2 separate regions of the Homo sapiens genome follow, and region 1 is linked to region 2. The links are contacts of gene promoters, found by promoter capture Hi-C in blood cells and fetal thymus (Javierre and others, 2016). All regions are on one chromosome and are shown on one strand. The core of a region is centred on a gene start or on the middle of the fragment in contact, and the rest is flanking DNA. Distances in the headings are between cores, read along the strand shown. Region 1 overlaps ARNT2 (aryl hydrocarbon receptor nuclear translocator 2). Region 2 holds the start of ABHD17C (abhydrolase domain containing 17C, depalmitoylase).

Region 1 (6,515 bases), core at 3,442-5,941, 230 kb after region 2:
TTCCAGACCCCATGAGGGGAGGAGTGGTAGAGAAAACAAGGAATGCCCAACTCTGTCCTCAAGCAGTGGGGGGTTAACTATGAATATAAAACATACACCTTGCATAGTGGAAATGAAACGCAGAGTATGATTAAATGCTTCAAAAGGCAGGTGAAAAGCAAAAACCACAATGGAGAACGATATAGCGAAGAGGAGGAGGTGGTCCTGGGGCTGAGGGTGCTAGAAGGGGTAGGGAGGAGGAACTGGGAGAGAGCTGGGCCTAACCTGTCAGCAAGTAGAGGAGGTCTATTTTGGGGAGGGGATCAGCAGGATCAAATAAAGGCCTGGAATTGGGAAGAAACATTTGAGGGTGGTGAGGAGGCAGGCCTAGACGGAAGGGTAGAGATGGGCCCTGGAGTAGAGGGGCCGAGGAGCAAGAGAAGCTGGGAAACCTTGCTGGACAGTAAAGGGAAAGCTGTCGTGCATGGCAGGCTGATAAGAGCCGTGATGCTCTCTGCCTCTGTGGCTGGCTTCTCGGGGGAGGTGCAGGTTGCGGGAGAGGTTCAGGGTTGGGGAGGAGGAGATGGAGGCTGGGACCAGCAGGGAGATTCCTGAGGCCTGGTGCTCTCTCCCACCCACAAAGGATAACTCTGCAGCCAACCCACTGGAATGGTGGAAACACCAGCCACGGCACAAATGCCGTTGGTCCACAGAGCACAGCCACTCTGGTAGGGAAGGGCATATACTCTCCAGGAGAAACTGCTGCTGCGTAATCAGGCAGGGCTTGTTGACTCGGGGGTAGATAGAGGTAACCAGAGAAGAATGGGTTGGGGCGGGGCAATCATAATGAAAGAAAGTGATGAAAAAGGGGGATTTGGTTAGAGATTGTTGAGTTATTTAGTGCATTCAGGAACCCTTCCCTGGAGGAGATACAGGACTTCCTTTTCCTTCTCTCCATAAATTAGGTAAATTAGTGGTGGCAGCCCACCCTGAACTGGGTCTTCACCAACGTCTCCTGCATTTGACTCCTCAGCCAGGAGCTTGTCACGAGACAACCAAGGTGCAGCAAGAAAGGCCTAGAGGAGCTCTCAGAGGAGGGTGAGCCCCCGCCTCGCCAGCCTACACTTCATCAAGGCCCGATGGGGTGGACGGAACACAGAGACCGTTGGCTGAGGCTGCTGACCTTGCAAGATGCTGGGCAGGCACCCTGGCCGCTGATGGGCGTTGTAAGATCATGGGCAGTACACGCATGAGTTAGGTCCAGGGCTGCACGCCACCGCCCCGCACTTGCCCGCCAGACACCCTGGAGAACCGGCTTTCCTCCCATGCACCCACACCACCTAGAGTCTGCATTCCAGCTCTTCAGCCTGACTTCTGGGATCTCGCTCATTAGGCACCACCCACAGCCCTCTTCCCTACTCCAACCACGTGTCAGCTGCTCCCCACCCATCAGTATCACCAGGCAATAGCCATTCCTACTTATCTTCGATTCAGCACACGTGGAACTGCTCCCGTCCCTCAAAATTCCATCTGTGTCAAAGCTCTTGCAGCTGTTTCCTGGTTCTCTCCCACCTTCTCCAGTCCATGCCGACTGCCTGCTGTCATCACTTTTCCCCTTGTCACCAACCACCTTTTCCCAGCCTTTTTCTCCAGTCTCACCCTCCAGTTTAGTCCTCATGTTGTGGCCAGACTGATGTTTCTCAAAATACAAACCAGAGCCTTCGCTTAAACCCCTTCCATTGAGCCTCCAAACCCCTCAGCTGGTCACTGTGACCACTGCTTCAATGCAGGGCTGACGCACACTTGCTTCTGATACTATTATCCAAAGAGCTTGTCCCATAGTGGCACAGACCATCTTGCTTTATAAATATTCTGCAGGTGAAAAATCTTCATATGGGGAATCTTAAACAGAGATCTAAAGCAATTTCACCACAGTGCTCTGTGAACCCAATCTGTGAGATAAGGTGTATGAAGAAGATGGCCTTAGGGCAACTGCTTAAAAACTGATTGTATTTATTGCCTAGTCCAGAAAATGCTCCAAGTACTTTATATTTTATGAAATAATACTGAGTTACCAGCAGAATGTCAAAATGACTGACAGCTGCCAATTACTTAGCAACAAGATTTGATAAGTGAGTGACATACACATATGTATGTACGGTTTCATTCTGAAGCCTTCATCAAGGCAGCGGGGATGATGCCATCTTGGGAACACAGAAGGACATATCTCCAAGATCATGTTTGCTGGGGCAAGGCCATCTCTTCCCCAGAGTGAGGAGACAATTTGGGGTCTGCCTGGAGGAGCTGCAGGAGTGAGCCTGTGAACCTGGTGTCTGTGACTTGCGTGTGTACCACATGCTTGCTCGGGGCTGAGTAGCATCAATAAAGAAATTAACTCCTATGTACAGGGAAGCAGGACCAGGACTCCACAGAATTGACAGTTGGGGACACAGGTAGAGCTGTCAGTTTCAAAGACACCTCTGCTGTGCTAAGAGGACCCAGAGCTTGGCTCCAGGAGCACAGCTATGGAAATCAAGGCACAGAAAGAAGAGGTTCAACTAACTGCACACTGACTTGTGTTTCTTTTCCAACTCTGTTCCTGATGGGGACCTCCTAAGTTTAATCTGAACGGTGAGGTACCCATCTTAGTTAAAGAATACGAAAGGAGAATTTTATAAGATCTCAATAAAGAGCATCCTTAAACTGCTGACAGCCGTTGAGTCTCCTGTCTGCTATGGGAAGGGAACCTTAGACCCGGAGCAAGCAGACTGAATGAGACAGCCCCATGCTGGGAACTCCCTGATCACTGCAGACATGGTATACCTGGAGCATACTTCCAGTCTGGGAGTTACTGTGCTGGGTACTGGAGACGGGTGCTGGACAGGACAGAGAGCCCACGGAAAAGCAGGGGCAACAGAGAGTGAGCAGGTGCAAACACAATCCCTGTGTGGTTTCCTTGTACACTAAAAGGTCAGAAGAGGATGCTGAGAGTGTGCGATGGGGAGAGCTCCCTGTGAAAAAGTCCCAGGAAATACCCAGGAACCCTAGGACATGGGACACTGAAAGTCCCCACGCAGGCCTGGCTGAGAGGAGCCACGACATAAACCTAAGTGCTTCTGCAGCCTCCTCTTTGCTCATGTCAGGGTGATCAGGTGTGGGCACCTCAAGGCAGCAGGTGGGCTGATGCAGGATACTATGAGAGAGATATGACCAAGTCTAGCTCTAGCCAGGCCACCTACACTGCCATGGTCCAAATCTGAGAAGTCAGCACTTGAAATAATACGACTGGTCACTACACCTCACTGCCAGCTTCAGAGCTACATGAAGCTCTACACACGTGGAATGTCTGTAGAGCAGCCCTGCTGCAGATGGCACCAGGACCACATTTCTCCATGATGCCTCAGCTTCCATTTCTACCTCCTGAGGTCCACACCCCTCTCCAGGCCACAGCAGTCCAAACAACAGACCTGCTGAAAATAAACATAAAGCTTCTCCCCAACCTGGAGAAGCATCACCAAGCAGCTGCCACTCTCAAAGCCATCGGGCTTGGAAACAGGCCTCACTCAGGGCAGAATTTGTGCTCATTTCCCCAGATTGCACTAGAACTGGAAGACCAGACACCAGGAGTTTTTTCCTTTTCAGAATTCACCCAGCACACAGTGATAACCTCTGCTCTTGGACAATTCACCAAACTGTGCATGGCTCAAGTTACTGAACAAACAAGGCTTTCTGCCTGCAATTCCAGTAAAGGGCTTCAGCACTTCTCAAGCAAAGGAAGCATCAATCCCCGTCTTCCCCTACTAGGGATTTCTCTGTGAGATTTGACCAGTTAGGGTAGAGTCAGAACTGTAGGAAGAGACCCTTTGCATAGGCTCATACCACCTGGCCTTCAGAGGTAGCCTGGGGGAGTCATCAGACCAAGAGTGGCTGCGTGGGGGTCTACACATGAGTCCTGGTCAGCTGTCAGGAGCCTCTGGTGCAGTATTAGGCACAGACTGGCTCTGCCCCACCTCGGTGACACTCGGGAAGGAAGACTGTACCTTTCCAGGAACATCCTTCATGGCCAGTCGCTCCCAGGCATGCTGCAGGGCATTGTAAGAGCCATGAAGGCCAGAAGAAAGCCATTTCAGGAGCCCCATGGAGGCTGGTCAGATACCTGCAGAGAGGGCCCACTGAGGCATATTCAGTAAGGCAGTTTTCCCAGCTTCTGAGGCTGCTCCAGGAAGGGCAGAGGGTTGCTCTCTCCTTGAGAAGGAGGTAGGCATCCTGCTCCCCAGAAGCCATCCAAGGCCCAGGTTTCTGCAAGGCAACTACAAGATACCTGTGTGTCCAGGCTGAATGCAAGACTCACCCAAAACACAGGGAGGAGTCTGAGAAGCCCAGATCCTCCCAAGCAGGGACCCAGGCCCGGCACCTCTGACAATCCCTGTTCCCAGTGAGACACACATCTTGCATGTTTCTATAGCAACTTACAGCTTCCCAAGCACTCTCTCAGCACTGACTGCAATCGATCCTTGCAACCCCCCACCCCCAGCCCCCAATCGGGATGTATCTCCTTTCCCCAGAGGAGGAAGCTGAGGCTCCAAGGGTCACACTGACTTACCAGGACTGGGAACAGGCCTGCCAGTCACCTGCTGCCTCTCTCTCACCACCTCTCCCCAACAGAGCACTAACTGGTCCTAGTTCAGAGCTAGAATGCCCGGAGAGACTAGGGAGCAAAGATATTTAAGGCTTTATGGGGGAAGAATATGCCTAGCAGCTTCCAAAGAGACACAGCTCAGGACTGCTTATGATCCCAGAAGTGATTTCCTCCTCTCTCTCCAAAAAACTCTAGTGTTATCCAGGCACTATCATTTCAAATCAGGGTTAATCTCTCCAGCAGAAAAACTGAAGCGGGTAGCATAGCTAAACATGGTAAGAAACACATCAAGGTGCAGGTCCATCATGTGAGAGCCAAACATCTTGTATGAAGAAATCACACTGGCTGGGCACAGTGGCTCACACCTATAATCCCAGCACTTTGGGAGGCCAAGGCAGGCGGATCACCTGAGGTTGGCCAGCCTGGCCAACATGGTGAAACCCTGTCTCTACAAAAAATACAAAAAATTAGCCGGGCGCGGTGGTGCACACCTGTAATCCCAGCTACTCCGGAGGCTGAGGCAGGAGAATTGCTTGAACCCAGGAGGCAGACATTGCAGTGAACCGAGACCGCGCCATTGCACTCCAGCTTGGGCAACAAGAGCAAAACTCCGTCTCAAAAAAAAAAAAAAAAAAAAGGAAATCACCCATCCATATCAGCATGGTGTTAGAAAGCCACCCCTCCTACAAAATCTTTCATTCCAGTGTGTGCTAACCCTAACCCTAACCCTAACCCTAACCCACTGAAGCAACTTTAGTTGCTCATAAGCAACACTGTACCAAATTCTACCCAGCTTATCTGCAACACTTGTCTGGTTCATATGAACTGAGACTGTAGAGGCAGGGAGGAGGCATGGGAAGTTTGGAAGGGCTCCTCTTGGCGTTTGCTCTGCAACCTCTGAAAGGCTCGGCTGAATCTCTTCCTGCCTTACAAGGACCTCACGTACCCATCCAGTGTGTCCCACACATGGTAACTGATAAGATGAGGCCAGATAAAAAAAGGGGCACTCCTTGCTGCTGCCTGGTCATCCTCTCTGCCTTGGAAATACTTTAGGCGTCTTCTCACTTGGAAACAGAGTAACCCACTCTCTAGGCTAAGACGCTCAGACTAAGAATTCTGGAAACCCACAATCTTCTTTTCTTTCTGCCGGGAAAGACCTCTGCAGGACACGTCTACCTTGCATATTTTCCTTATCAACAGAGTTTTGGTCATGATACCTACTCACAAAGCAGGAATGATTAAAACTAAAACATCACCACAACCTATAAAGCCAGGGGGGAAAATGCCTACAAGCTTAAATACCACACAAAACCAAAAGGGAAGTACCAAAATGGACGTGATGAGAAACAAAAGGTCAATTCTGCAGAAGCTTTCCTACCGTGAATATCTTTACTTTTAGATAACTTTAGAGGTTCACTGGCTAACTCTACAAAATATAAGGCACAATGTTGGACTGGTGCAACTGGGTGCTACAATCTCACCAAAGAGCAGCCAATGGGGTCACTTGCAGCCATTTCTAAAAAGGTTAAAGAGAGGCCAGGAAGCCCCTTGATAAGGGATTTTGAGTCCGAGCTCTTAGGAGGCTCCAAGCACTGGAGCTGAATCCACAGCAACAGATACGAGAACTCCTTGGAAGGCCTTTAGGGTCTTTTGAGAAAGGGTGTGGAATGAGTCTGAAGGGAGCAAAAATATACAGATAATACACAGTGGCAAGAATTAAAGTTTGAGGACTGCATGCTTGTTTGTCCCCAAGTTGTAAATGTAACAAAAAGACAGTTACATTAGGAATGTTTCCTCTCTTTTGTTTTAATGACACATTACGCATACATTCACATACGTAAGGCACACGATGAGCACGGTGTATAATTTTGACTCTGTTGATGACAGCTCTGGGATG
Region 2 (6,238 bases), core at 2,345-4,844:
GCTCTCCAATCAGTGTCCTGGGGAGTGTGGTTAACTAGGAGGGCAGGAAAGATAAAGATTCCCAAAGAAGACATGGGGGATGGCTGGTGGAAAACAGAGTCTGACCCAGTAACAGAAGAATGGACACATGGGATGGAAGGCATTCCTGCCATGGCACTGACATGAATTAAGCTGTAAAAGAAGAGAGAATAGCATAAGAACTTGCTCCAGGCAAGTAAGAGCAGAAGAACCATACTGAACAGCAAGAGGAAAGTGGTTGAGGGGCTGATTGGCTTCAGAATTAGGTAACTCTTATGTCAGCAGAATAACCAAGACACACAAATGCACCTCCTGAAGAATCTGATAAATATGCTTACCGTGGCAATGGTGCCCTCGCAAGAGTACTAAACTGGTAGTCAAGAGACCTACTGCTGATTTGCCGCCAGTCTATCCTCCTGTCAGATGAGCTGGGTGAACGTGTGCAGTGTCCATACATGAGTTGGGAAATAAATTTAGCAATTCACAACCATCTTTTTTTTTCTTTTTTATAAAAGTGAAATAGGCCAGGCGCGGTGGCTCACGCCTGTAATCCCAGCACTTTGGGAGTCCCAGGTGGGCGGATTATGAGGTCAGGAGGTCGAGACCATCCTGGCTAACACGGTGAAACCCCGTCTCTACTAAAAATACAAAAAATTAGCCGGACGCGGTGGCGGGCGCCTGTAGTCCCAGCTACTCGGGAGGCTGAGGTAGGAGAATGGCGTGAACCCGGGAGGTGGAGCTTACAGTGAGCCAAGATGGCGCCACTGCACTCCAGCCTGGGCGACAGAGCAAGACTCCGTCTCAAAAAAAAAAAAAAAAAAAAAGTGAAATAAAACAACATATTCTGCTATGTGTGCTGCCCATAGAAAAATTACTGTTTTGTGAAGCATTGGCTTCAGGTATGTGGATACAGACGTGTATGTGTGCTTGATCAAAACGTAAAATGTGTTTCTTACTGTGAGGTTACAGTCAAAACAGTTTGAAAAGCACAAGACATGAGGATCTATAAGGTTCCTTCAAATTCTAAGCTTCGCATGCAGCCTTCAAATTCTAACCTTTTTTACAGGTGAATAAATTAACTTAGATATGAGTTCTGGTATAACATTAAATAAATCATGGGCAATCTTTAGACATACCATCAGATAATTCAAAGTTATCCGAAACAATTACCCTTAATTCAACTGATACACTATCAGATAATTCAACATTATCCAAAACAACGCCCCTTAATTCAACTAAATATGACCAAAAAAAAAAAAGTTTCCAGGAAATAACTACACTCCACGTAAGCTGTAACACAGACACACCTGTATATTTGGGGCAAAGGGTGAGCCATGTGAAAGGCTTTCATTGTAATGTGGACATGCACACACAGAAGCAATGTTCTATGGAAACTCTTCAATTAAAAAATCTACTCAAGGTAGGATTTTCATGTTTCAAATTTTAAAGATCTAATGCCAACCTTATTTTTAATACCTTTGCCAACAGCAAATTCTAGCAAGCTATAGACTGTGTGTGACACATACTTTTGAAACCCTTTACTGGAACAGGTGGCTTTTAACTACTTACAGACTCTGACCCAATGCATCTGCATATGATACATTCTCATCTGCCTAAGCCACTTTCGAAAAGCTATAATCCCAATGAGGGCATCCCCTTCAGGACTTCAGGAGGGCATAAACATGCAACATAGAGCAAATATTAAGTACTTCCCTGTTGGACAAGCCATTTTCCCAGACAGGCAAGGAGTCACTTAGGAACATATGCGTGAGTACGAATGAAAAAAAAAAATCATTAACGTTGGTGATGTGCATAAGCAAACAGGTTTTAGATAAAAACTATAGAAGGGTCCATGGCGACAATAATGCCCGGTGTACTTCCTCTGGGGACTCTTTCATCTGAAGAAATCAAATCTCATCATAGACATGGCCTCAGGTTATTTTCACCATCACTGCTATGAGGCAGGTCGGAAAGGTCACAGATACCCAAACTGGAGCACAAACAGGTAACCTGACCTGCACATGTATAAGACTTTTGTCTAATAGTGAATAAAAGTCAGGTTTTTGGTTTGCTTGTTATAAAACAACCAGGTCTAACCCCTAAACCATGCCCCCAGTTTGTGCCTGGCTCACAGATGGCCCACCCTAAACACTTTTCAGTCCTTCTGTGAATGCTAATTTAAGGTCAGAGATTTCCCAGCCCCTGCAAGTTTCAAACTTATCCTGGACTGTTATGGAGGCCGTGTGGAAGGTGCCAGGCCCACAGCTACCAGCTAACTTCCTGCCCCACAGTGCCACTACTTTGCCCCACCAGGAGGCAAACTCCCCGCTCCACCTGACGCTCCAGCTGTTTCCAAGGTTGCCCAGACATTGTCCTGCCCGCACTTTACAACCAGAAAGTCTTTTAGAGGCCATCCTGTCTCGCCCACTGACTTTACAGGGAAGGAAACTGAGTCTAGAAACCCATGTGCCTTGCCCAAGGTCACTTCAGCTCGTACAAACGAAACTCGAACCAAGTTGTTTCTTTCTGCCCGGTACTTAAGCACCCACACTCTGCCACTCGCGGTGACCGGAGCCACAAAAGACCCAGCCGGTGGGCCGGCGACACACAGGCGAGCCAAAGCAGGCAAAATTCTCTGAGTCCGAGCTCTCCAGGAACCTGAAGGCTGGCGCGGTTTTTGGAGAGGGTGGGAGCAAGCCAGGGTGGGACAAGAAAAGCGAATTTACGGCGGCCAAGGGGCTCTCCGCTGGCCCTCAGCCCCGGAGGAGGGGCCCCTCTCCTGGCAGGCCGCCCCAGGGGCCCCAAGAGACCCCCACCCCGCCTCCCCACAGCTGGAAGTCAGGCCTGGCGACCCCGGCAGGCTCACCGGGTGCGCAGCGCCTGCCACGCGGCGTCGATGTCGGCGTAGAGGTTCTTCTCGGAGGGCTTGCCCGAGCTGACGCCGTATCCCGAGTAGTCGTAGGAGAAGATGTTGCAGTTGATGCGGGAGCCGAGGCCAATGTAGAAGCTGCACATCTGGCCCAGGTCCACGGCGTTGCCGTGCGAGAAGAGCAGCGTGTAGCGGCTGGAGGGCGCGCAGCGCACGAACATGCAGCCGAGCCGGTTGTCCCGGGCCGTGCGCGAGAAGAAGACCTCGACGGCGTCCAGCTCGCGCTGCGAGTACTGCCAGTCGGCGCGCTCGCTGAGGTGCAGGCTGCACGCACCGGGCCCCGCGCCCGCGCCCTCCTCGGGCTGCTGCGGTGCCGGCTGGGCCGCGGCGGCGGCGGCGGTAGCCTGGGCCGGGGCCGGGGCGGACGCGCCGGCGCCGCGCTGCTCCGGCGCCAGCACCGTGTAGGTGGGCTCGGGCGGCAGGAAGGCCAGCTTGGCGGCGATGCGGCTCGGGCAGGGCGGGCAGCAGAAGAGCCAGCACAGCTCACCCAGCGAGAAGCCGTTCATCCTGGGGCCTGGCTCGGGCATCGGGACGGCCTGGTGCCCGCCGCCGGCCCGGCTGGCTGGCTGGCTGGCTGGCCCGGGAGGACGGAGGACGGACGCGCGGCGAGGGAGCTGGCAGGCGAGCGCGGAGGGCGGCTGCAGCCCGCCCGCCCGGCGGCAGGAGGAGGCGGAGGCGGAGGAGGGCAGGAGGCGGGGCCGGCCCGGCGGGCGCGGCGCTCGGAGCCCGGGCGGGTCAGCGGCGGCCCCGGAACCCAGGCGAGGCGCGGGCGGCCCGGGCCCGCGCGCGGCACACAAAGCCGGCGGCGGCGTCCATGGCCGGCTCGTGCGCGCCGCCCCCCGCTCCCGTTCCCGCTCCCGCACGCCCGCCGCCGCCGCCGCCGCCGCCGCCACTTCCGGGTTACCGCGCGGCGGCGCCGCCGCTGGGACGCGGCGCAGAGCCGGGCATCGGGGCGGGGCGCTGCGGGCAAGGGCGCGGGCACCTTCCCCGGCCTGGGAAGCACCTTCTCGACCTGCGGCCGACGGGGGCTTCCAGGCGGCTCCGGGGCCCGGAGAAGCTGGGTGCCGGGGCTGGGGGCTCTGCGCCCGGACAGCTGGGCCGATCTGCAGAGGGGACCCTGGAGGGGGTGCATGTGTCCCGGGGTGGACCGCTCCCCTCCCCTCCCCCTGGGATTCCCTCCCCCAAATCCAGGTTTCTCCCGTGGATGGAGGTTCTTGGGAGTCTACTGAAAAGGAAACTAAGGGGTGGACAAGAGTTGGAATGTGCCCGAAATATTTGGCTCTCGTGTGTGCTGCTTTCTGAACTGGCTCAGTACCAAAAGTTCTCAGCACCGTAAGGGGTACCGGGGTTGTGGGATAGGGTGGTCATCAGTGTGTTTCTTATTAGGAGAGGCTGTTTCTGTATAGGTAGCAACAGCGTTTCCTTTCTAAGGGCATGGTTTTACCCTTAGTACATTTCTGTATCTATAAAAGTCAGCTGTTAGAACAGGAGGGTACTGTATTTAGCAACAAACCATGTTGAGGTTGTCATTTCTAATCCCACGTGTGGCAGATTTTCCGGTAGTAAGTATATACTAGGTATCGTTTACAGTGTTTGTGTCTCTAGAGTTGTTTTGGGTCCAGGATTTTTCAGTGGTCTTAGTCATGAACGATTCTTATACTGCTTTAAATCTACTGTAATCTTGGCAGCCACCTTTACATGATTTTTCAAATATAACTCTCGGTGCCTTGAAACTGTGCTCTGGTGCCAGTTTCCACAGAGCCTTCTATACTTCCTTTTTCCCGCCTGATTTGGCAGCTGAAGAATTCCCTTTCAGGAACTGACAGGAGATACCCTTCCTGGACTGCCAGCAGGGCAGCTAGAGACTGGGAGGTTGGCACAATCCCTACGCTGGGTCTGTTGTTTTAACTCACAGATGTCCTGAGAATTTTACCTTTCGTTGTGACTTTCCACAGGACGAATATTTTGAGCACCGTCATCTAAATGAATTGCCGATACTGATTTCATTAACCTTCAGGACCTCGCTTTTAATTTTTTCTTTTTTAAGAGACAGGGTCTTACTGTATTGTCCAGGCTGGACTCCCAACTCCTGGGCTCAAATGACCCTCCGGCCTGCCTCCCAAGTAGCTAGGACTACCGGCACATGCCACCTTGCCCAGCTAGGACCTGGGTTTTAAAAGGCCATTTCTTCACTAAAACAATTTTACTTGTTTTTGAACTATTCAAACTTGATTTTTAAAAACCTGGTAACAAAGCCTGTCCAGATTGCATATTTGAAGTCTGTTTTGAAGGTTTTCACACTTGGTGAAACTCTTCACATAAAGCCCAATTCTAGCTTTGCAGGTTTGCATTTCCTTTTTTTTTTTTTTTTTTTTAAAAAAAGAATTTTTCTGCGAAAATCCTTTAAAAAGAAAAAAAAGCTTTATACAGCTGGGCACAGTGACTCACGCCTGTAATCCCACCACTTTGGGAGGCTGAGGAGGGTGGATCACTTCAAGTCAGAAGTTCAAGACCAGCCTGGCCAACATAATGAAACTCCGTCTCTACTGAAAATACAAAAATTAGCCGGCCATGGTGGCGTGCACCTACAATCCCGGCTACTCAGGAGGCTGAGGCACGAGAATCACTTGAAGCTAGGAGGCAGAGGTTACGGTGAGCCGAGATCATGCCACTGCACTCCAGCCTGGGTGACAGAGTGAGACTATGTCTCAAAAAAATAAAAAGGCTTTCTAACTTGCTACACATTGGTATACTTTGGTCACTTTATTGTATTCAGCATTTATGTATGTAATGTTTTTTGTGCTCACAGCATCCACTGTGTTAGGTGCTACAGCTACCAAGGTGAGTAAGATAGTCCCTGCTCTCAGATACCTTACAGTCTAATTAGGGCATCAGCAGAAGATTCAAAACAGTTTTTATGTGCCTTTAAAAAAAATCAAGTCCTCATAAAAGCTAAGAAGATGGTCTTGCGTCCTGATTCAGTGGTGATATTTCTATGGGGAGCTAAGGTTATAGTCGAGTGCATTAGTCCCTAATCTAATTCAGAACAAGAATCAAACTTTGGGAACTGAGATGAAAGGGTATCTAACAGCCCCCTAGTCAGTCTTTCTCAGATACCACTCCTCTCACCTGTCCTTTATAAGAATTGAATAGCCCTTAGTTCATGAAAGGGGGGAATGATGAGAGTCTCAAGTACTCGTCTTCTGTGCTGCTGATGGAAAAGACAGTCTTTATATTTCAGATGGCCTGGCAGCAGTGTTAGCATTGTTAGAAAAATCTAAAAGCTAGATA

Evidence for each region. Contacts are between HindIII fragments. The CHiCAGO score rates a contact against its expected background, and 5 or more counts as called.
Region 1: a fragment that was not itself captured here is called in contact with the fragment with the promoter of ABHD17C in region 2 in 1 of 17 cell types (M0 macrophages); the score reaches 5.1 in M0 macrophages.

What each region holds. Positions count from the first base shown.
Region 1 is chr15:80,462,316-80,468,830 of GRCh38, reverse strand. All of the region lies in intron 3 of ARNT2 (aryl hydrocarbon receptor nuclear translocator 2), which reads right to left. Among named protein-coding and RNA genes, the nearest start is that of ARNT2, 61 kb to the right of the region's middle. The HindIII fragment of the contact is 2,444 bases long and covers 3,470-5,913 here.
Region 2 is chr15:80,692,666-80,698,903 of GRCh38, reverse strand. It overlaps ABHD17C (abhydrolase domain containing 17C, depalmitoylase), which reads right to left and starts at 3,594. Exons shown (of 3, transcript NM_021214.2): 1 at 2,885-3,594. The coding sequence starts at 3,474. RefSeq lists silencers at 2,771-2,830, 3,251-3,300, 3,391-3,810, 3,831-3,940, 3,961-4,120 and 1 more and an enhancer at 2,991-3,060. The HindIII fragment of the contact is 4,321 bases long and covers 1,049-5,369 here.